Regions from separate parts of the Homo sapiens genome. Here all the other regions are linked to region 4. Evidence: promoter capture Hi-C in 16 types of primary human blood cells and fetal thymus (Javierre and others, 2016). All regions are on one chromosome and are shown on one strand. The core of a region is centred on a gene start or on the middle of the fragment in contact, and the rest is flanking DNA. Distances in the headings are between cores, read along the strand shown. Region 1 has its middle 180 kb from the start of LINC01648. Region 2 has its middle 120 kb from the start of LINC01648. Region 3 has its middle 92 kb from the start of LINC01648. Region 4 holds the start of PTPRU (protein tyrosine phosphatase receptor type U). Region 5 has its middle 23 kb from the start of LINC01648. Region 6 has its middle 73 kb from the start of LINC01648. Region 7 has its middle 160 kb from the start of LINC01648.

What was found. The method cuts DNA at HindIII sites, captures the fragments that hold promoters and counts their contacts. A CHiCAGO score of 5 or more calls a contact.
Region 1: a fragment that was not itself captured here is called in contact with the fragment with the promoter of PTPRU in region 4 in 7 of 17 cell types (total CD4 T cells, M0 macrophages, M2 macrophages and 4 more); the score reaches 7.7 in total CD4 T cells.
Region 2: a contact is called between a fragment that was not itself captured here and the fragment with the promoter of PTPRU in region 4, in 1 of 17 cell types (M2 macrophages). The highest score is 6.2, in M2 macrophages.
Region 3: a fragment that was not itself captured here is called in contact with the fragment with the promoter of PTPRU in region 4 in 2 of 17 cell types (erythroblasts and M2 macrophages); the score reaches 7.1 in erythroblasts.
Region 5: a contact is called between a fragment that was not itself captured here and the fragment with the promoter of PTPRU in region 4, in 1 of 17 cell types (M1 macrophages). The highest score is 5.9, in M1 macrophages.
Region 6: a contact is called between a fragment that was not itself captured here and the fragment with the promoter of PTPRU in region 4, in 6 of 17 cell types (endothelial precursors, megakaryocytes, erythroblasts and 3 more). The highest score is 10.4, in endothelial precursors.
Region 7: a contact is called between a fragment that was not itself captured here and the fragment with the promoter of PTPRU in region 4, in 1 of 17 cell types (endothelial precursors). The highest score is 5.6, in endothelial precursors.

Annotation. Positions count from the first base shown.
Region 1 is chr1:29,856,554-29,860,170 of GRCh38, reverse strand. No RefSeq gene overlaps it. Among named protein-coding and RNA genes, the nearest start is that of LINC01648, 180 kb to the left of the region's middle. RefSeq lists enhancers at 1,504-2,003, 3,124-3,617. The HindIII fragment of the contact is 4,704 bases long and covers 5-3,617 here.
Region 2 is chr1:29,914,601-29,917,760 of GRCh38, reverse strand. No RefSeq gene overlaps it. Among named protein-coding and RNA genes, the nearest start is that of LINC01648, 120 kb to the left of the region's middle. The HindIII fragment of the contact is 568 bases long and covers 1,164-1,731 here.
Region 3 is chr1:30,128,031-30,131,474 of GRCh38, reverse strand. No RefSeq gene overlaps it. Among named protein-coding and RNA genes, the nearest start is that of LINC01648, 92 kb to the right of the region's middle. The HindIII fragment of the contact is 1,234 bases long and covers 1,115-2,348 here.
Region 4 is chr1:29,234,529-29,237,780 of GRCh38, reverse strand. PTPRU (protein tyrosine phosphatase receptor type U) reads right to left here and starts at 1,259. Exons shown (of 30, transcript NM_133178.4): 1 at 1,064-1,259. The coding sequence starts at 1,136. RefSeq lists a silencer at 1,137-1,456. The HindIII fragment of the contact is 8,758 bases long and covers 1-3,252 here.
Region 5 is chr1:30,059,160-30,062,681 of GRCh38, reverse strand. No RefSeq gene overlaps it. Among named protein-coding and RNA genes, the nearest start is that of LINC01648, 23 kb to the right of the region's middle. The HindIII fragment of the contact is 2,362 bases long and covers 741-3,102 here.
Region 6 is chr1:30,108,980-30,112,331 of GRCh38, reverse strand. No RefSeq gene overlaps it. Among named protein-coding and RNA genes, the nearest start is that of LINC01648, 73 kb to the right of the region's middle. The HindIII fragment of the contact is 3,334 bases long and covers 434-3,352 here.
Region 7 is chr1:29,879,805-29,882,916 of GRCh38, reverse strand. No RefSeq gene overlaps it. Among named protein-coding and RNA genes, the nearest start is that of LINC01648, 160 kb to the left of the region's middle. The HindIII fragment of the contact is 2,512 bases long and covers 552-3,063 here.

The DNA of each region.
Region 1 (3,617 bases), core at 1,107-3,606, 620 kb before region 4:
AGCTTTGGATGAAGATCTCAGTGGTGAGAATACTGTGCCCAAATTGAAGAATTTGCATGAACTCACAGTTTGGCTCTAAGTCCCAGATCTGTGATGGCCTCCAGCTCTCTGCCCCTGACCACTGCACTCACTGCCCCTCCCCTCCCAGTGTCCATTTGTTCAGCCTGTAGGGCTCATCCCCATAACCACCCTGAGAGGGAGGGGCTGATGAAAGCCCTATCCCCACCTACAGATGAGGAAAGAGCCCAGAGAGGAGAGGTGACTTGTCCAAAGTCACAGAGCAGGGAAGTGGTGAGGCCAGGATGGGAAGCCCTGTAGGCCTGACTCCTCGTCCAGGACTCCCTCCCCTGCTCCCCTCCTATCCTCCCCAGGGAAAGTTGAGGGATGAGACTGGGGGTCTCTCCTCCCCATAAGCAGTGCCCTAGGCAGTGGGGGAACCTCCATCCCTCAGCATCTCCTGCCTGGTGGCCAAGCTCATCCTAGGTTTACACCATACCCTGCCTTCTCCCGCTCTGAGCCCCAGGGCTGTTACCCCCTTAACCCATTTATGTGCCTGCTTTAATTATTATCTTCAAGGAGAGGCTCAATCAGGAGATAAACACAAAAGACCTGTTGCTGATAATGGAAGGCCCCTGCCTCCCCGGTTGTAAATGGAGGGGCTGCTGCAGCCTCTGCAATAACATGCCTTAGCCTACATCAGGGCCGAACAGCTCCCCACACAGGGTGCATCTCCCTGTCCCGCAGGTCCTGGGACCCGGGCAGTGCCTCCCAGGTACATCTCACTATCACGCAGGTCCTGGGACCCGGGCAGTGCCTCACAGGTACATCTCACTATCGCGCAGGTCCTGGGGCCTGGGCAGGGTCTCACAGGTACATCTCCCTGTCTTGCAGGTGCTGGGGCCCGGGCAGTGCCTCACAGGCACATCTCCCTAATCCTGCAGGTGCAGGGACCTGGGCAGCATCTCACAGTGGGAGGTGCATAAGCTCGGGAGACAGCCCACTTTGCTCTGCATCCCACTCTGCCACTTACTAGATGTCAGGCTTAAGTCAGGTTACCCAACCTCTGTGAATCCCAGTTTCCTCACCTATAAATAAGAAATAATACTTTTAGAACTCATGTTTCCCCTTAAAATACCAGAGAACTAAGTTCAATTCTTTGGAAGCCAGACAAGGACACTGTGAAAGGAAAATAGAATCTCGGAACCCCAAACTCACTATGCCAAAGGGAAAAGCTAAACTTGGAAGCTGAGTCACGCAAAAACGGCTGTTTCCTGTGTTCCTAAACAGATAGCTACAAGATAGAAGTCCACTTGTCTCCCCGGGTGGCCTTCCTCTCCCTGATGATGATAACAGCTTATTTTCATGGGTGTGAGCCAAGAGGAGACTAGGAATCATGCCACCACCCACCCCAAGACGAACACATATTTGATTTCTTTCTCCATTCTATGTTTATTTTATAGAAAGTGCAGATTTTCTGAGCAAGAGACAAATACGTAATGGACTGTTCCTCTACCCTGTCCTTTTCACATGCAATGTGTGGATTTGGTGAGTGCTCATCAGGGCCCTGCAAGAACGTGACCACACTGTCCCTCTTTTTCGTTCTTTCCTCCTTTCTCCTCCTGCTTGCTTTTTCCCCTTAAATATCGAAGCCCTTAAAATCCCCTTTGGAAAAAGTTCAGACCACAGATCCTACTGTGGCTTGAGTCTCATTTTCCCCAGCACACCCTCAACCTTGGCAAAATACACATGTAAATTGAGATGCGCCTCAGTTGCTTTTTTTGGTTTACAACATGGCCTTTTTGCTGCTCAGTTGCCAGCACCCAGCATAAGATGAGCATAAATGTTCTGTTCACCTGCCTTCTTGCTGCTGTGCCCTCGCCTTGCTGGCCAAGATAGCGAGCAGGGCTCGGATCTCTCCCGGTGGACCCTGCTTGTCCAGATTCCCTGTGAGCTGTTGACAAAGGCTCATCCACTACCTCTGGTGCTCCAGGATCATGAAACACTCGGTTCAGCCAGGGGAGCCTGGCAGGGCCCTTTCCATGTCTGCAGCGGCCAATCTGACTCAGGTGACCCCAAGAGGGGCCGAAGCTGATTGGAAAAGTCATCTCATTGTGGTGGAGACTGGAGAGGGTCAGGGCAGTAAGGTGGGTGAGCTCAGCAAACCTGGAAGCTGGGTTGTTTCATGCATAATTCAATGTGGGGAACATCCCTGGAGGATTCCTGCTTTTTCCCACAGTTTTCTGGTACCAGAAAATGTCTTCCTCACAGAGCACCAGCTGCCTCTGCAGGCGAAGAGGATGAGTCGCAGCAGTTGCAGGGAGCAGAGGGTCTCAACGGCCAGGGGGAACCAGGTTGGACCAACCTGCCCAGCCCCTTAGTTACCCCTGGGACTGGGGACCACCTAAGGATGGGAGAGTGTTGGATGATTCCTCTCCTGTGAGATGTGGGTGGGCCTGGATTGCCCTCAAGTCTCCCCCAGCTCCAGGATGCCACGATTCTCCTCCGTCCCTGAGCCAGGCCTTTTCCCTTCAAAAGTCTGTGGGGGCAGCAGGCAAGGGGTTCCGTGCCTCAGGTCTAGTGCCACACAGCAGACACAGGCAGGGCAGGTGCCCCAGCCAAGGCCTCCTGACACCCAGTCCAGGGCTTGGGGGTCCTCCATGCCCGTGGGAAGCCAGAGTCCATGCCATGAGGGCATGAGCTTCCTCACCTCTGCCCTCACATGGAGAAAATAAACTTGAAATAGGAGGTACCCAGAAGCCATCATACAGCTGCGGAAACTGGGTCTCAGAGAGGCCAGGTCATTTTCCCAAGATCCTTCAGGTAGGAGGTGGAAGAGCTGGGATTGCAAGCCAGGTCTCAGTGGTTGCAGAGCTGAGCTCTTAGGTGACAGAGCTTGGACCCTGGCCATGGCCTGCTCTCCTTTGGGTTCAGGAAACCCTGTCAGGGCCCAGCCTGCTCTGTTCCCTCATGTCCAGACTGTGAGAGTGGCTGTTATTTCCAAAGCCTCTGTATTTTCTTGGAACCCAACCCCAGGCCTCCACAGCTGAGCAAGCCCTGCGCCTTTAGTTTATGACAGCCCTTGAGATTGTGGCTGACCTGGGCCCGTGACACATCTGTGGCCTGCTTAGTGCCTGCTGGGATGTGGTATTGGGATTCTGGTCGTGCCTGTTAAATCTTACTAGCAGGCTTCTCATGCTGCTTCAAAGCCAGCTCCTCCTCAGAGCTCCCCCAGAGAGGCAGGAACAGCCAGGCCAAGCCTCCCAGAGCTCTGCCCGGGATGCCTTATCAAAGCACATAAAATGCCCAATTCCACCAACAGCAGCAGCCGAGCCTGGAAAGCTGAGCAGAGAGCAGAGGGCCAATGGGCAGGACAGTGCAAAGCCAAGCCCAGCCCAGCCCACTCCCCAGCCATGGGGGTGCCAGAGCTACACGCAGGGCCTGGCAGCAGTGTGAGGACACTTTTGTCTCCACGGGACTGCACTGTATCAGCACTTAGCTGAGTTTGCTGGTTCTAAGGCCCAAGTTATGCTTGGGCTGCAGCGGGCCCTCCGTTTGCATCCAGGGAGGCAGGAGCCTTCCACTGTCAGCAGCAGGTCTTTTGTGTTTATCTCCGGATT
Region 2 (3,160 bases), core at 198-2,697, 680 kb before region 4:
GCACTTTGGGAGTCTGAGGCGGATCACGAGGTCAGGAGATCAAGACCATCCTGGTTAACACGGTGAAACCTCGTCTGCTACTAAAAATACAAAAAATTAGCCAGGCGTGGTGGCAGGCGCCTGTAGTCCTGGCTACTCGGGAGGCTGAGGCAGGAGAACGGCGTGAACCTGGGAGGCACAGCTTGCAGTGAGCTGAGATCGCACCACTGCACTCCAGCCTGGGTGACAGAGCAAGACTCTGTCTCAAAAATTATAATAATAATAATAACTGTATATAATTTGTGAAAGGAAGAGAGGAAAGAAGGAAGGGAAGGGGAGGGGAGGGGAGGGGGAAGGGGAAGGGGAAGGGGAGAAAGAAGGAAGGAGAAGGGAAAGGGAGAAGGAAGAAAGGAAGGGGAAGGGGAGGGAAGGGGAGAGGAAGGGGAGGGGGAAGGGGAAGCGGAAGGGGAGGAAGAAGGAAGGGGAAGGGAAAAGGAGAAGGAAGGAAGGAAGGGGAAGGGGAAGTGGAGGGGAGGAGAGGGAGGAAAGAAGGGAAGGAAGGGAAGGAAAGGAAGGAAGGGAGGGAGAGAAGAATACTAAAATTCATGTTTTTCAGTACTCCATTATGTACAGCCTTGAGAATTCATTGAGAGTGACCATCCAAAAAACTAGGTGGGACATGATTTGTCTAAGATACTCAGGGAATCACATTCCTCTTGCCACAGTAACTGGTTCAATCAGTACAAACTCTAGGATTTTTGCTGAGAATTCTGTGACGTAGATGTCTCTGTCTTTCTGAATGGTTGGGATAAGGATCTTGAACTGAAACTTAATGCAGCCACTTTATCACCATGAATAAAGCCAGCCTGAGACCAAAATCAATACATGAAGGTGGGTATAGTAGAGAAAACTATCAAGAAGTGAACCTGACACCCTGATCAAACCACTCCTGAAGCCCACATCTGGAACTTTTTAGTTCCGTTGGTCAGTAAACTCCCTCTATTGTTTTGGGGAGTTTGTGTTTTGTTTTCTGTTTCTAGAAACTGAAAAGCTTCCTTTTCATAGAAGTTTCTGTCTTCAAAAGTCTTCAGTCTGTTGTTCTGTACTCAGCTCAGTTGTCTGATGACTTGGTTACTCAATGCTTCCCTGTGCTGGGCTCTTCTACTTGTCCTAGGATAGAAGCTTCTCCTAGGAACACAAAACTAAAAAGCAGCCCCCAATTTAAAGGGCGCGCTATTTCTGTGGGCTAAATTGTGTCCTCCCAAAATTCATGTATTGAAGTCCTAACCCCCAGTGTGACTGTATTTGGAGTTAGGGCTTTTAGGAGGTAATTAGGGTGAAATGAGGTCACAAGGGCAGGGCCCTAATCCCTATTGGATTGGTGGCCTTATAGGAGGAGAAAAGAGTGAGATCTCCCCCTCTGTCTACACGTGTAGACACCTGGGAAAGGCCTTGTGAGGACATAGCAAATAGGCAGGTGTCTGCAACCCAAGCAGATAGCCCTCACCACACACTGATCCTGCTGGCACCTTGATCTTGGACTTCCAGCTTCCAGAACTGTGAGAAAATAAGTTTCTGTGGTTTAAACCACACAGGCTGTGGGATTTTGTTCTGCTATGGGATTTTGTTCTGGCTGTCTACGCTGACGAAGACAAGCAGCCAACGAAGCACCAGGAGTCACTATTCTGGCAGAGGTGTCTACGGCATGGAAGGCAGAGCAGCTACTTCCTCCTGGTAGGATCAGGGAAAGCTTCAAGCAGGAGGTGACACCTGAGCTAGTCTCTGGTGGGTGCCGAAAATTTCACCAGGTGGGAGAGAGGAAGAGTATTCCAGACAGAGAAGACACAGGTACAAACGCCCAGACCTGAGGAGGTGCCTAATATACTGAGACAATTTCTATCATAGCCAGAGGTGAGGAGCCATGCAGGGCAGAGGCGGAGCCAGGACAGAGGCAAGGCTGGGTGTGCCCTTGGATCAGCAAGTAATCAAATGCCATGCTAAGGGGATCGGACTCCATCTAAATGCCAGGGGGCCCTTTAGAAGTCTTGAAGCAGTGAAGGAGCCATTTAGTCTTTGAAGGAGGTAGGGTCCTAAAACATCCAAGATCTTTTCCGGCTTGAAAATGCTGTGAGCCAGCAAAGCCAGCAACAACTAATGACTTTCACTGGGTGAAAGTTAATAGACTTGTTTGAATTGAGGTTGCACAAATAGATTTGAGGTTTCATGAAATCCTGGGAGGAAGCTGGGGGCAGATCACAGAGACCAGAGCTGGTGGGGGAGATCAGGGCCATAGTAACCTAGGCTTCCTTGTGTGGTGTCACATAGAAACACACAGCCAAGCACCGGGATTAGTCTTCCTAGGAACAGCCTCCCCATCCAGCTTTCGTCACCCACCAGATGTGGCTGCAGAGCCCAGACCTCCCACTGCTTCTGCTGGGAATTTACATACAGACTTCAGGAGCAGCCCCCAAGACCAGTCCCTCCAAGACCAGCCCCAGTGAAATCAAACCTTTTCCCCTTTTATTTTAGAGCCTTTAGAGTCAGACTTCCCCTTGGGAGGTGATAGATGCCCATCTCATCAAATTGGTAGAAGCCAGCAACTCTCACAGCAGTGAATAGAGACCCTTTGAAGGAAAATGTCAGGCCAATAAAACATCAAAGGCAGTTTGGCTTCCTAGGTAACAAGGAATAATGATGATGGGCTCCCAATTCCCCCAGCAAGGCAGAGCTTTGGAGATCTCCAGTGGAGGTGAAGTAAAAAGGCTTTTCCTGAACCTAATCAGGAAAAGCGTCCTCAAATGACCACATGTGGTGGATGCTGTCACAGCAGCCCTACTGGGCAGATGAGGATACTGAGGCATAGATAAGCCACGCCCTCCTCTGGTGAGTGCCTAGGTCCTGGCCTGATGGACTCCAGCCAGCACGCTCTTTACCACTCTGCTCACTAGGCAGGAAGCAGGAGCCCGCAGTGTTAGGTCCTCCAGAACCTCAAAGCTGTGTCTGTCATGGGATCAGGGTCCAGAAGTCCTGCATTTGAATTCCAGCTCAGTCAGTGCTTCAGAAAATTGGGATAATAGTCCTAAGATCGTAGCATTTTGCAGGGGGTTAAAGGGCAAATGTGTATAATGTGTGGAGCATGGGGTTTTGCACAGAATAGATCCTCGATGGGTGCTGACTCCCT
Region 3 (3,444 bases), core at 482-2,981, 890 kb before region 4:
AACCAGGGAATAAGCTCCCCTGCCTCTCTCTCCTCCCATCCCCTGGTCTCCTCTGGTGCCTCCAGAACCCAACAGGAGCCAGGACACAGGAGGGCACTGGAGCCCTATTGATGCTATCCATGCAGGTCAGTCTCCTTGTACAGAGTGGGGAGGGGGTGAAGGTGTGTCTGGAGGGCACACAGAGGATAGTATATTTTCCCCTCCCCAGCCTGTGGTGGGGACTGTTAGCTCCATAATAAAGATGTGGGGCCTGATCAGGGAAGCCGAGCTGCTCAGTGATGGAGCTGACTCCAAAGCCTTCAGGCTTCCTCATCCCAGTTGAGCCTCTCCCAGCAGAACCACGGATGGTTCCCACCTATGGGCAATGGGCAAGGCATTCAATAACAGTGCTGGTTTAAGATGCCACCACCACCACTAATGGTGAACAGCTACTTAATTTCAATGAAAGAAGAACTTTCCAGAAGCTGAAGCTCTCAGTTTTGTGATGAGCCCAAGTGCCTGACCTGGCAGTGAAGTCTCATCTTCCCATGCCCCTGGCTGCCAAGTGCAGAGAGCATCTGATATGGTTTGGATTTGTGTCCCCGTGCAAATCTCATGTTGAATTGTAATTCCCAGTGTTGGAGAAGGGGCCTGGTGGGAGGTGACTGGATCAATGGGGTGAACTTCTCCCTTGCTGTTCTCATGATAGTGAGTGAGTTCTCATGAGATCTGGTGGTTTAAAAGTGTGTGGCAATTTCCCCTTTGCTCTTTCTCTTTCCTGCCCTGCAATGGTAAGATGTGTTTGCTTCCCCTTTGCGTTCTGCCATGATCATAAATTTCCTGAGGCCTCCCCAGCCATGCCTCCTGTACATCCTGTGGAACTGTGAGTCAATTAAACCTCTTTTCTTTATAAATTTCCCAGTCTCAGGTAGTTCTTTTTAGCAATGTGAGAGCAGACTAATACAGCATCCCAGGAGGGAGGGGGAGGCCTGGTGGGCAGGTGGAGACTGCTGAAGCTCCCGGGAGGGGGAGGCCTGGTGGGCAGGTGGAGACTGCTGAAGCTCCCAGAAGTGGAGAAGACTGTGGGCATAGGGGGCCCTCTGAGAGCCATAGCAGTGCCTGCCTTGCAGAAGCTTACTTGGCATTGGAGCCTTAGCCCCACACTCCAGGGAGCTGCTGGGGTGCCAGCCTCCCTCCTCAGCCAGCTCCTGCTGCAGCTGCTCTCTGTGCCAATGGAGCTGGGCGGGGCACTGCTGGTGCTAATATTGTTCAAGAACAATTGCATATAGTTCTCATCCATGAGTCTCCCTAAAGGCCTGAAATCACGGGAGGCTCTCTGATGGTGGACCCAGCTCAGGCTGGACACACTGAGCTGACCGAGGCTTGGACACAGAGGTTCTGCCCATCACATTGCTGTGTGCCCTTCAGAGAGCCACTGGGTCTCTCTGGGTGACCTCTGGCAATCCCTCAATGGAGTCCCACTTGGGGCCAGACCAAGGAGCATGGCCCCTGCTTTCAGGGACTAAAGCAGAGATGTCACGATACTGCTTGGGGGGTGTGGGAGTGGGGAGGGTTAATTTGACTGTAGACTTACTGACTCACGTCATTGCAAAAGCTGCCCATAGCCGCCCCTAGGTTGCACTCAGGCCAGGGGTGCGGGCTCTGGGCACAGTGTTCACCCTTAGGTCAGCTCTGCAGCCCCGATCTGGGCAAGAAGGGAGAAACAGGCTCTTGGAGGTGGTGCAGGGCCACTTGGGGGGGAAAATTCTGGGGTCCCAGAATGAGGTCTAAAGAGGGCCACCGTCCTGCTGGGCTCTCCGTTTGGCTCTGCAGAATCCTCACCCCAGGGAATGGGGCGCAGTGGGGGAGAGCCTAGTTGGGACCCTCCAAAGCAGAGGGGCCTCTGGTGACCTGGTTTAAAGGCAGTTCTGCCCTAAATGTTTGTCATGTCCCTTCCCCAACCCTTACCATAGCTTCAAGACCCAAACAAGCCCATCCAGTGGGCGCCCTCTCACCAGAACTGCGCACCCTCTAGCCCCCTCCTTCAGCTTGTCCCCCACCCCAACCCCTCCCCGCCTCCTCCACCCCCTGCCTGCTGGCTCTGCCCACTGGTCTGCTGGGTTCTGCTGCAAGGGGAGTGCGACTGATGGAACTTGATGGAATCTAAAAATGAGTTTTCACCGCGTGTCAACCCTTCATCTTGCACTGTGAGACTCTGAGCATTTTATAGCAGGAGAGAACGGAAACAAAAAAAAGAAAGAAAGAAAAACACTTGTGTTTCTTGAGATAAATAGGGAGTGTTGGCAAGGCTGAAGTGTTAGAAACATTTCTTGTCTGCTGTTGACACCGTGAATGCTGCCTGATAAGCTTTCCCTTATCTTCGTTGAAGTGTCTCCATGCAGAGAGAGGGCTCCATTGCCCACCCCCTCCCACCTCCTGTTTTCAGGCTGCGGGACAGGTCAGCCTCTTCCATCCACACAAACAAACCCTGTAACACCTTTCCGGCTCTGCCAGGGGCACTTCACTTGAACCAGAGTTGATTGGTTTTGCAGGTCTTCCTCTCTTGTGGGGAAGGCACACACACATAGGTGAATAAGTGGTAGTTCTCACAGTGCCCCCGCAGCACCCAATGCTGTCCTCAGCCACCAGCTCTACTGACTTCTTGGAAACATCCTCTTCTTCACTCCAGCATCTTTCTACATCACCAGGTAGAAGATCACCAGCCTTAAGCAAGCTTACCAGGCAAAGGGCCTCGGTGAACAGAGAGGCCTGAGGTGGTGGTTAGTCCTGGTGTATTAGTCTGTACTCACGCAGCTAATAAATACATACCCAAGACTGGGTAATTTATAAAAGAAAGAGATTTAATTGAATCACAGTTCCACATGGCTGGGGAGGCTTCACAATCATGGTGGAAGATGAAGGAAGAGCAAAAGGACTTCTTACATGGCAGTGGGCAAGAGAGCTTGTGCAGAGGAACTCCCATTTACAAAACCATCAGATCTCATGAGACTTACTACCATGAGAAGAGTATGGGGGAAACCGTTCCCATGAATCAATTATCTCCATCTGGCCCTGCCCTTGACTCGTGGGGATTATTACAATTCCAGGTGAGATGTGGGTGGGGACACAGCCAAACCATATCACCTGGAGTCTGGGGAACTTGACCCAACACTGAACCCCCACTGCAGAATCTGAGCCACCTGGTTCCTGCCCTGAAATTCACAGGAGCAGAACTTGGGTTCGTGGTGGGTGCCCTCACTGAAGGGAAGTGATGTAGGGTGGTTAAGGGTGTAGGCTCTTGGTTCAAATTCTGGCTCAGTCATTTCCTTGCTGTGCCACCTTGGGCAGGTCGCTTCACCCCCATGAGTCTCAGTTTTCTTGTCATGAGACATAGATAAGAATTTGAAGATTAGGTGAGAAAATGCCTGGAATAAGACTAACACAGTACCTGAGACATAGTAGGCA
Region 4 (3,252 bases), core at 10-2,509:
GCCCGGGCGCCCCGCAGCCCCGGCGCCGCCTCGGATCAGCCGCCCGCCAGCGCCGCGCGGAACTTGCGAAACAACAAACAGTCCGACATGCCCGAGGCGGCGGCCGCGGGGCCCGGTCCTCCCCTGAGCCTCGGGCCCTGCCCGACCCGGGCAGCCCAGGGGGCGCCGCCGCGACAACTTGTTCCGGCCCAGCGCGCCACACACGCGCACACGCACACGCGCGCACACACGTCCTGCCACCGCCCCCTCGGGCGGCCCCGGGACCAGGGCACACTCGCAGCCGCGGCCCAGGCGCGCTCCACACTCGCAACATTCCTGGACGCGCAGCCAGCACACACGGACACATTCGCACACACTCACATCCGTTCCAGACTCGCTCCCACACACGCATTCCCGGCACACTTGGCATTCACTCGGACCCACGCGGCCCCCGGCAGCACACACCACATACCCTAGACACTCCCCACACGTACACAGCGCACGGACACACACGTTCCGGACCCGTTCCCACGCCTTCACACATGTACACGGATCTCAAAAGCACACACGCCACACACGCGTTCCCGGATCCACACTCAGGCGGGATCCAGAGAGCACCCTTGGCCACAGGCATAACACAAACACACAACCCACTCGCAGACACAAAACAAACAGCACTCCCGGCCAGGCATACAAAATGCAAACAAATGCAACACATTAGCAGATACAACTCCCGCAACACAACCAAACTCAGATGCACACACAACCCACTTGGCCACACAAACACTACACACTGGCAGACCCACAAGACACTCAGCGCACACCCAATGCCTCGATGCACACAACATTCACCCCCAACATACTCGCCGACACACATCACCTTTTCTTGCGCACAGAACTCACGGACACACAACATTCGCAGTCACGCAACACCCCGGGCACACAATCGCCCATCCTACGCTCAGACACACACAGGGAGCACGCTCGTAACGCCCGGTCACTCAACACTCACACTTTCTTCCGAGCTACGCCACGGGCCCCGAGGCTCGGCGGGGCAGGCTCGGTCCGGCCGCCGCGCGCTTACCTGCCGGAGTCTCGGTCTCCGGCGCGCAGAGCTGGAAGGTGAGTGCCAGCACGAGCGCCTGGGCACGGGCCATGGTTGGAGCGTCGCCGCCCGTCCCGGGGCCCGGCGCGGGGGACGCCGCCCCCGGAGCCCGAGCCCAGCCCGAGGCGAGCCGGAGCCCGAGCCGGAGCGGAGCGGCGCGGCGCGGAGCGGGACTGGCGCCGAGTCCAGAGCGCGAGCCGGAGCAAGCGGGGCGCTGACGTCAGGCCCGGCCGCGGGTTCGGCGGTCTCGCGGCGCTCCCTGCTGGCCACGGCGGGTGCTGCAGCGGGTCCGGCCGCCCGCTAGCCCTGGCGCGCCCCTCCCCCGCTCCCGCATCCTCCCCGCCATGAGGCCCCGCGGCTGGGTCTGGACGCCCACGGACGTCTCCACGGACCGGGCACCAACACTGCCAGGCGAGCACGCTCATGGCCCACGCCTAGCTCCCGTACAGCGCTCTCAGGGACGGTGACCCAGGGACACCCGGCCTCTGTCCCATCCGATGCCTGAATCCCTTGTACCTTGGCGCCTTCAAATGCGTGTTCTACATACCTCCAGGAACAGGGCGCTCATCACCTGGCCAAGAGCGGTTGTTGGGGCTTTGGAAACGCCGGCTTTTAGAAAGTTTTTCATTTCATGACGTGCAAGTCTACCTCCCTCACTAGCCCTCACTGGTCCTACTCTACCTTCTGGCTACACAGGTTAAATGTATTTGGGCCTCTACCCAGAACGAGCCCTCGCACTATGATCTGCAAACTCGTTGCTCATTACTATGTAAGACCAGGTACCTTCTATGTGTTTAACCCACATGGACTCATTTAATCATCATATATTAGGTATGCAATAATTATACTGCATAAATACTGTTATGCAACAGTATTTGACAGCACCGAGATTTGAATCAAAGTTGTTTGGTTTGAATTGAATAGGGGCTGAGACCTTCCTCCCATCTGGACACCTATTCATTCAACAAATATTTATTGGGGTCTATTCATTTATTCAACAATTACTATAGGCCAGGGTAGAGATATAAAACAGACAAAAATTCCCTACTCTCATGGACCTTACATTCCAGTGGGAAGACAAGAACAGTAAACAACCAAAAAAACAAAAACAAAAAAGCAAACCCTCTGGTGTACGTCCTTTATCACTGTCTCATACACCAGGAAATTTGGGGGTGGTGGGGGGACAGGGAAGGGAAGGGGAATTGTTGCAATTTCAAATAGAGTGCGGGCTATATGATGAGTTCATTATCTGTCTCCACCTCTAGAAATGAGCTCCCTTGGGAAAAGACTCATCTTGTATTTCCGTGCCCAGTATATGGCATGTTTTTATTATTTTATTTTATTTTATTTTATTTCAAGATGGAGTTTCACTCTTGTTGCCCAGGCTGGAGTGCAATGGCGCAGTCTTGGCTCATTGCAACCTCTGCCTCCCAGGCTCCAACAATTCTCCTGGCTCAGCCTCCCAAGTAACTGGGATTACAGGTGCCCACCACCACGCCCGGCTAATTTTCGTATTTTTAGTAGAGACAGGGTTTCACCATGTTGGCCAGGCTGGTCTGGAACTCCTGACCTCAGGTGATCCACCTGCCTCAGTCTCCCAATGTGCAGGGATTACAGGCGTGAGCCACCGCGCCCGGCCTCTGGCACGTAATTGATGCTCAATAAATACTGACTGGATGGAATGAATGAAAGGGAAATGGTCCTAGCCTTCATGAATCTTACATTCTATTAGGAGAGCCCAACAGCAAACATGTACATAAATATATCATTACCATCTAAGATATGCAAGCTAAAGGAAACGAGGGAGTATAATGATAAAGAACATAGGGAAGGGGCATCTCCTTTAGATAAGTGGTCCAAGAGGGCTTTGCTATAGAAGTGACATGGTGACATTTGAACTGAGACCTGAAGTATGAGAAGGAGCCAACCTCATGCAAATCAGTGGAGAGGAACATTGCAGTCAGAGGGGACAGCCTGTGCAAAGGCAGGAGCTGGTGGGTACAAGCAGCTGCAAGGAAGCCGGGCAGCTGGCATGGAGTGAGTCAGGGGCAGAAGGGAGCCAGGTGCAGCTAGACAAGTCAGCAGGGTCTGTAGGTCAGGCAAGAAACTATGAGCAAGGAAGGGGCTTGAGGTTCAACCCTAAGAGTAATTAATGGGAGGCCACTGAA
Region 5 (3,522 bases), core at 672-3,171, 820 kb before region 4:
GAGGTCAAGCAGGCATGCTTTCCATATACCTTCCTGATGGATGAAAGTCTCAGGCAAGTCCTGGAGGGCAGAAGTTCGGAGGCCATCTCCTGGAGGTGAAAGGTCACACCTGCATTTCTGAAGGGCTAAGTAGAAAACAGGGACTAGGGAAAGGGGAGAGGAGAAAAGAAGAGAAAATCATGGAAAAATAATAGTAACTCATTTCCTTTTTCTTAGAAAAAAGGAAGCCACTTGGTTACACCAGGGCTCAGTAGAAAGCCAAGAGCTATTTCTCAAATGCAGAATAGTTATCTACAGAAGAGGATAGGGCTTTGCACCAAAAAACTGGGGCAACTGTGCTGCTGGTGTCTCTTGCTGGGGCTTGAGTCTCCTACTGGGGCTTGCTGCTGGCCCCATACAAGATCCCTACTTGTACAGAGACTTGGGTTCCACTAGACAGGCTGGGTTATAGGCCCAGGTGTCAGGGCACTGGCCTGGAGATCAGCATTGCTGCAGGGCCTTTCCTGGCTCTAAGACTTGCTCAGTTTTACAAGTCATTTACAAAATGCACTGGGGCAGCACACACACGGCACACACCTCATTCTTGGAGGCCCTCTGCTTCCCAATCAACGCCTTCACTTTCAAGGAACAGACAGTAAGCTTGTGAGTCCAACGTATGATGCAATTCTACAACCCACAGGATGACATTTTAGATGTGATTTTCATTTGTGTCTGCCCTATAGCTAGAAAACACAAAAGCTTCCTTGAGGGCAATCTAATCACTGGTTATCTATCCGTGCTCTGAGCAGAGATTTGAAACACAGTGCTTGTCATTTTCTTTCTACAAACTCTCCAGTACTGTCATAAGTAGCCATTGTACTCCTCATTCCTTCTGATAGTCATGATTACTACCTCAGAGGCCAAGTGCCGCAGCCACTTGGGCTGACGATTCTCAGTGTTCAATAGGCACTTTGTCCCAGGCAACCGTAAGTGATGATTTAAGTGATTTAATGTCCCTGCACACCAAGGCATACTACAATCTCACTGTCCCTGGCCATGAGGTTCTCACTGTGTTTAAGCCTAATCAAGTCAAACAGCCCACCCCCAAATCCCATTATTGAAGGTTTGTTTCCTGGTAGCACAGCTGATACCAAGTGCTATATCATTCAGGGTTCATTTAGAAAAAACAGGAAGTACGCTAGAAATTGTAAACAGAGGGGAGTGAATGCAGGGAGCTGATTATGAAAGTGGTGAACAGGCTGAAAGGGCAAAAAGAAAAAGATAGGAAGGCCCGGCGTGGTGGCGCACACCTGTAATCCCAGCACTTTGGGAGGCTGGGGCAGACAGATCACTTCAGGTCAGGAGTTCGAGACCAGCCTGGCCAACATGGCGAAACCTTATCTCTATTAAAAATACAAAAATTAGCTGGGCGTGGTGGCAGGCGCCTGTAATCCCAGCTACTCAGGAGGCTGAGGCAGGAGAATCATTTGAGCCCAGGAGGCAGAGATTGCAGTGAGCCGAGATCACGCCACTGCACTCCAGCCTTGGCAACAAGAGCAAAACTCCATCTCAAAAAAAAAAAAAAAAAAAAAAAAAAACAGTAAAGAAAAGAAAAGATAGGAGCCCTAGTCCTGGAGGCACAAACCAGAGGAGGTGGTGCTGCAGAGCTCAAGACTGCGTGTCCTGCTGATGTAATCCATCACTAGGCCCACTGCTGCCAGAGCCACCCACACCCTGGGTAGCTGCAGCTGGCCACTGCAGCTATTGCCAGAGTCACCAAAGGGCCGTTGAGCTGGTAGCTACCTGGTGCAGCCAGAACCTCTTTCAGAAGCAGCTTCTCCCCAGCTCCCATCTTTTCGTCTTCACTAGCACTTTCCATTGTCGGTGCTAACTGGAAGCCAGCAGGCATGGGAGTCTAGGAGATGCAGCCAGCCAGGATCCAGCATCACACAATAGTGTTAATGGCACAGAGAGCAAACGGCCAGTGGACAAATGACCTGCACAGTGCTTCAGCACTTGGACTTTTGTGCTAATCAAAGCAGTTTGAAACTCAGCTCTGTGACCTTGAGCATGGCATTTAATTTTTCAGAGCTTTCTTTTACCCAAGGCTAAGGGGGGATAATAACACCCACGGCACAGGGTCGTTGTGAGGATTAAATATGCATGTAAAAGTGTCCGTGCCAGGACCTGGACATGAGACGCCCTCCCTGTAGGGGTCCTGATGTTCCCTGGTTCAGCCTCATCCTTGACTTACTCTCTGACCTTGAACAAGTGTCTGAGTCTCTCTGGGCTCTGTTTTCTCATCTGTAAAATGAATGAGGTTGGAACAGAGGCTCCACAAGGTCCCTTTAGCCCTGTTGAGCTGTATGCTGTGAATCACTCCTTAAATGAAATGGACAGGTTGGGTCTGGCAGGAGGAATAGGAGGGTCTGATTGCTGAAAAGGAGCCCAGGGAGAAGGGAAGGCGTGCCGAGGTTGTGGCTGAGTCTGAGTGCTCTGAGCTGTGTGCTTCACTGGAGAACACGCTCACATGTCAAACAGATCACACTTCAGCCATCTTAATGTTCCTTGCACCTCCAGGTTGCCCCTGGCAGCACTGACATGGTCTCTGTTCCCTTTGATGCGCTCACTCCCAGGGTGGCTCAGTTGACAAGAAATTGCCAGGAGCATCATTTTCCTGCACTCTGTAATCCAGAAGGAAAGGGGCCTTAAATTACATCCATCATGAAGATTAGGTTTGTAAGCCAGGGGCCTGTGAAGGACTTGAATGTCTGAGCTTGGAGAATCTTCCTATTTGGGCTGGAATTATGCGTTGAAACCCGCTGGAACTCAGGAGGTGCTGAGATGCCTGCAGAGGCCGGTATTCCTGGAAGTACCGCCGTCCATGGGCTAAAACATGGGGCACTTTTGTCCAGCAGAGAAGGGTTCAAGGGTCTATTGTGCCACTTGCTAATTTATGTCCTTTTCTTAGCTTCTCTGAGACTCAGTTTCTTTATTTATAAAACGAAATCATAATATGTACTGCAATTTGCACTTGGGCTGTTTTGGTTTATCCGGCATCTCTTTCTCCCTCTGTTTTTGGCACCTATCACTCCTGTCACCCTTGCTTTGGGAAGGTAAGCTTCCTGCACCCCCCAGGCCCTGATATTCTGACCAAATTATCAGTCAGTGACTCTATCCCACCTCTCTTCTTAGAGAGAGGTATCGGCATAGACTAAACCAATCACAGCAATCCATTCCCCCAGGAAATAGTGGTTGGTCCAAGTAGAGCATGTGACCAAAATCAGCCTATTAGAATCCTTGACTGGGACCATGTATATGGCTATAACAACAAGCAATTCTCTCTTTCCTATGGAATCACTAGATGGGATGATCTAAGCTTGGAGCTGCTAATGGTTATGATTCCCCTTCCACTTTCCTTTTCCTGCCTCATGAATGAATCCCATGGCAAAGAGAAAGATGCTACTACACAGTCAGAAGCAAAATGTTGAGAAACATAAGGAGTATGAGCGATCCAGTGATGTCATTGGAGCCCCTGAGTCC
Region 6 (3,352 bases), core at 851-3,350, 870 kb before region 4:
AAGGGAGAGGCCAGCCAGGGAGATCTCTGGAACCCCAGGCAGGAACATCTGTCTGTCTTGTTTTTTTGGTGCTGCGGTCCCCTGCCCTTTGACCTAGGCTTCTGGAATGTCAGTGGTGGGTCGCAGCCTCCTCTTTGTGGTCCTGCAGGAAATGGAGGAGGCTGGTAGGCTTCCTAGCCTTGGGTAATATGGGGCAGAGAAAGGCCAGTGGTTGCAGGAGGCCAGACACAGTGAGTTTGGAGGATTCAGGTGAGAGCCGGACCTAGGAGCAGCAGGTGCTAAGAACTGGCCACTCCTAGGCATTCTCAGCCAGGAACCCCACGTCTCAGGGGTTTCGGGCTGAGGGCCCGTGATGTGCACATGAAAGCCTGGGCCCCTCAGGAAGCCCTTGGCCCTGGGGACATGGGGGTTCTGCCCTGCATGTACACAAGCTTCTCTTCCAGCCCCACCTCTGACCTCCCCTCCCTTAGCAGCCTCATCCAGGGAAGCGGGAATCAACTCCCCCAGTCGCAGTTTTATTTTCATCCATCTCCACTGAGATATTTGCCCAGCGAATGAAAACACTTGTATTCATCAGAAACTTGGGAGCCAAAACAAATGTTTCCATTTATCTGTCTTCCAGTGCCTCACAGAGCCCCAGAGAGGGGCAGAGCTCAGTGGCTGGAGGAACCGTGGCCATAAGAGGGCGATCTTGCATCAGCAAAATGATGCTGTGCGAGGTCCCGGAGTGTGCGCTTTTCTGGACCTAATCCACCTCCCCCCGCCACTCCCCTCCCCACGGCGATCCCGATTTTTAGGATGACTTCTCTATAGAGTCCAGGCCACCGGCGACAGGAGGACGGATTTGATGAGTCTTCACAAGCCTCTCTGCTTGCTATTATTATTATTATTATTATTATTTTGTGATTATTTTTGTGGAGGGAATGGCTTGGACCCTGACTCATTCTGTCAGCTCGGGCCTTCTCAGTGAAGCTCTTGCCAATCATTGATTGATCAATGTGTTAAAAATAAAAAAAATCTCACCCAGGGCAAGCCACAGACTCGGAGAAAATATTTGCCAAATACATATCTGGTAAAGATATGCCCAGAGCACATAGATAACCCTCAAAACTCAACCATAATAAAACGAAGACCCTAATTATGACAGATTATCCTCTGAGCAGACGCATCACCAATGAAGAGCTAGGGTGAGAAGTAAGCACATGAAAAGATGCTCAACGTCGTTAGTTATCGGGACGGACCAAAGAAAACCACAGCGGGATGTCACTTCACCCGCCCAGGATAAAAGGGCAACTGCCTGCACCAGGGGCTGGAGGGATGAGGAGTGGCTGGGGCTCTTTTCGGGAATGCGGAGTGCAAAGCCACCTTGGGAAACAGCTTGGCAGTTTCTTAGAAAGTTGAACACACGCCACCATATGATCTGGTCATTCTGCTCCAAAGTGTTTACCTGTGAGAGAAGACATATGTCCATGCACACATTTGTGCACAAATGTTCATAGCAGCTTTATTTATAGCCACAAACTGGAAATGATCCAAATACTCATCAACAGGTGCATGGAGGAACAAAATGTGATTCATCCATACAATGAACATTTTTCAGTAATAAAAAGAAAGGAAATGTTGATACATATCACCTAGAGGAATCTCAGTGTAATTATGTGGAGTGGAAGAAGCCAGACAAGTAAGAGAACATAGTGTATGATTCCAGCAGATACAATTCTAGAAAATGAAAACTAACTGATAGTCATGGAAAGCAGATGAATTTTTGTCTGGGGCAGAGGAGGCAGGCATGGTGGTGAGTGATGGGAGGATGGGAGGGGGGCTGACCGAGGGGCAGGGGACTCACCTGGGGGTGATGTGTATGTCTGTTACCTGGACTGTGATGGTGATTTCACGAGTAGGTACATATGTCAAACTCATCAAATCAGTATGTTAAATATATACGGTTTATTGTTGTAACACAATAAAGCTGTTAAAAATTTTTAAAGGTTACTACATCGTGGAGTCCTGAGAGCTTTGAAAGACAAATGCGTTTTGCTCTGTGAAAATGTGCATCACTGGTCCCCAATTTCTCATCCCCTCTCGAGCAACCACCCTTTTCCGTGTAACTTTGCAGTGCTGTGGGCGGGCAACATGTCCTGTCCCTTGGCAGAAAACAGATGGTTCCCCCATATGACTTGCTTCGGGCAATGGGATGTCGGCAGACGTGACGCTGCTGTGACGCACTTGGGCTGGCTCTTGCATCTTACCACTGCTGTGAGAACATGGCTGGACAGCCTTCTGAAGGATGAGAGGCACACGGAGCAGAGCCAAGTTTCTCCCGTCACCCCATCCAAATTCAACTACATCAGCCAAGGTCAGCCAACATCAGCCAGCAATGATGGAACCCCCCAGACATGTAAGTGAATCCAACCAAGAGCAGCAGGGCTGCCTAGCCAACCTACAGCTGACCCCAGAGGAGTGAGCAATAAATGTGTTCTGACGTTAGCCAGTGAGGTTCTCTGGGTTTTGTTAGGCAGTTTTATTGTAGGAATAGGTAACTAATTCAGGCCCTATCAGAACAAACAGTCTGGGTCTATCTGGGAAGACTTCCTGGAGGAGGTAAAGCAAATTGTTTTGTTGTTGTTGTTGTTGTTAAGTAAGTATTTTATTTTACCTATTTTTTAATTTTTTTTATTTCCATAGGTTATTAGGGAACACGTTGGTGTTTAGTTACATGAGTAAGTTCTTTAGTGGTGATTTGTGAGATTTTGGTGTACCCATCACCCAAGCAGTATATACTGCACCCAGTTTGTAGTCTTTTATCCCTCACCCCCTTTCCAAACTTTCCCCCTGAGTCCCCAAAGCCCATTGTGTCATTCTTATGCCTTTGCCTCCCTATAGCTTAGCTCCCACTTGAGTTTTAATAGTGAGTGTGAAGTGGCCAGAGGGATAACAATGGGAGGGCAAAAGAGAAGGATGTACAAAAGTCCATAGGCTTGAGAGAACTTAGTTCAGGAAGCTGGGACCATTGCTCAGTGTGGCCAGAACCAAGGGTGGTCCCTGGAGGGGGATGGGATGGAGAGAGAAACCTGCCCCCATCCTGAGGGTCTTGAATGCGAGGCTAAGGCATTTTTAGAAAATAGGGAGCCATGGCAGGTTTTCAGTGAGGCTGGCCTTCTAGAATGATCATCACATGGCCAGGGCAGAGGGTGGATTAGAGCCAGCAAGAGTTGAAGTTGAGGCTACAGTGCAGGTGAGTGAGAATGATGGCCTAGACCCTGGCTGGGATGGAGACCCCGTGAGAGCCATTTGAGGGACAATGACCCCACAGCGGGTCCAGGTGGCTGGTGCCGCCTTTACAGAATATTCC
Region 7 (3,112 bases), core at 558-3,057, 640 kb before region 4:
TGCTGAGTGTTTTGTTCTGCCCTGGAAGAACCCTTCCCCCGAGACTTACCCAGAAGCTGGAAGGGGTGGGGAGCAGCAGATGCCCAATGGAGAAAACACTTCTGACTCTATGTCCTCAAAGAATTGATCTTTCTTATTTTTGAAGTCAAGGTTCAGAGGGCTAAGTTTAATCCAGAGAAGGTTTTACATTTGGTTCTTAGACAAGAGTGAGGTCAGCAAGGGCTAATGGGGACTGTGTTCCATCTCCTGAAAGTATTCAGTAGGTGCCCATAGCAAGCCTTTGACAGTGAAGCCCATAGGTGTTCCAGGTCTCCATGCAGAGGGGTAGATGTGAAATCTCTAATGCAACTCCTGCCCTGCTCTGGTTTCTTCTCCATACCCCACAGGATGCTCTGAATCTGCCACAGCCTCCCTAAGTCAAGCATTCAGAGAAAAGATGGCCCAGAAGCCAAAGCCACATGGGACACAGGCATCTTTTCAATGGGGGTCTTGGCTCTGTCTACATTTGGAGGAGAATCCAAGGAGACCTGTCTGACTGTGGAAACCAAGCTTCCCTACTCAGATCTCTTAATATAATCCTGGGCCCTTACTGGAGATGTGGAACTTTCAGCCTGGCCTACAAGGCCCTTCCCATCCTGGTCACAGCCTCTGCCCCAGGCTCACCTTACTCCACTGCTCACCTGTCATCCTATCCACCCACAGGTGCCTCCTGATCATGCTGACCTCCCACCCCAGGGCCTTTGTACACACAGTTCCCTACACCTGGATCGCTCTCCCCTCTCCCTTTTCACCTGGAAAACTCCTGTTTATCTTTCAGTAATCAACTTAAATATCATCTTTTTGGTGAAGCCTTCTCAAACCTCCCTACCACCTCTGCACTAAGATGCAGTTTCACATATGTTTGTATGAATTTGTTGTGGTAGAATGCCTCTCTTCCATTGTAGTCTAGTCTTTGGGAGGAAAGAATCACATCTGTTTTTACTCACTGTTGTATCCCCAGCGCTTGGCACAGTGTCAGCACAGAGCGGGTACCCAGTAAAGATGGGCGAATTCATGAATGCACCATGAGTTTCAACAGTGGTCACTGGAAACGGATAAGGCTGCATTGGGGGAATGTGCCACCTTCGTTAACTTGCTTTCTGGTAGTCTCACCAGCTCGGGGAATCCCAGAGCTGCAATGTGCTTAGAGGGCAGTTTGGGAAATCCAAATTAAGGCAAGCAAAGAACGACACATGAGTGTCAAGATCAAGAAAGCACAAAAGAGTCTCTGAGGGGGCGGGAAGATGGAGATGTCAGAATGAACCCATCTCCTCCCTCCCACTGCCAGCCCACCCCAGTCCACAGAAGCATTCCTCCAATGCATATTTGGCACTGCGCAGAGTCCACCAGTCACCTCCCAACACATTCTTCTACATTTCTTTTGCTAATAGAACCTTTGGTTCAAGTGTTTATATGACTGCCCAGAACAATTACTAATACTACAATTTCCCAGCATCCCCTGCAACAAGATGTGGTCATGTGGCCATAAACCAAAAAGCATCTGAGACAGGTCCCAATCAATTTAGACTTTTGTTTTGCCAAGGTTAAGGATGCCTGCCCAAAAGGCAAGTCTGTGCCTTTGTCCAACGATGATTTTGAGGGCTTCAATATTTAAAGGGGAAAGGGTGAATATTGCAGAAAGAGGAAAATTTTTTAAAAGGTGTTGGTAAGCCGGGCACAGTGGCTCACGCCTGTAATTCCAGCACTTTGGGAGGCCAAGGTGGGTGGATCACTTAAGGTCAGGAGTTTGAGACCAGCCTGGCCAACATGATGAAAATCTGTCTCTATTAAAAATACAAAAATTAGCCAGGTGCGGTTGTGGGCACCTGTAATCTTAGCTACCTGGGAGGTTGAGGCAGAAGAATCACTTGAACCCAGGAAGTGGAGGCTGCAATGAGCTAAGACAATACCACTGTACTCCAGCCTGGGCAACAGAGTAAGACCCCATCTCAAAAAACTAAAATAAAAAATAAATAAAAGTTGTTGGTAGATAAGACACAAATGGTTGCATTCTTTTGAGTCTGATCAACCTTTAACTGAATACACAATTTACATGGGAGGTGGGTAGAGGAATAGTCACTTATGCCTTTGTCTGCTCAGTGAATCTGCATTTTTCCATCAGAGGGAGCAATCAGATATGCGTTTGTCTCAGGTGAGCAGAGGGATGACTTAGAGTTCTGTTCTTTATCCTGCACCTGTGAAGATGAGCTATCAATTTACATTGTCAGGGTGAAATGCAACAGAATAAAATGGGACACAGGTTTGCACCTGCACAGTTCCCAGCTTGATTTTTTCCCTTTGGCTTAGTGATTTTGGGGTCCCGAGATTTTTTTTCCTTTCACATGGCCCAGTTCTGCCAATGATGCTGGAGCAGAAGTTGCGTGTGTGTGTGTGTGTGTGTGTGTGTGTACATGTGTGTGTCTTTGTGTACATGGATGCACACATGTGCAACCTCTGGATTGTGCCTTTAAAGTAAAAGACCATGCCTTCCACAGCTTGGGCTTTGCCACTCACTGGCTGAGTGACCCTCTATCAGTTACTTCACCTCTCTGAGCCTCAGTGCCCTTGTTCATAAAAGCGGGAGGACAGTAAGAGCCTCTCTCTTGTGAATTCAACATTTCAGGCAACCTCTGAGCAGCCCAGAATAGAGAGAGACAGCCTCTCACCCCCTACATTCTAGATATCAGCTCTTCATTAATTTAGCCTAAGGGCTTATTGGTGCATAATACTGTGATTTGTGCTAAATTTACATCTGCCAGAACCTTTTAGGCTTATTCTCTCAATCTCAGCTTAAACATCACTTTTTTGAGAGACCTTTCATAATGCAACTTAATTCTTCTGTTATGTTTCAGAGCTCCTTGGACAGCCCCTCTGTGGACAACTTTACATTTTGCCATCATTACTTCTTCAGTGTCCTGACTTTCTTTCTGCCTTCATGAAGGCAGAACTCTTGTTTTCCTATGCTTGGTCTCTCCAGACACTTGCCCGCAGAGCTGGACTTACAACAGGCACTCAAGAGAAGCTTGCAAATGAATGAACAAATGGAACAGGTGGCCGGCCACACCTTCCCCAC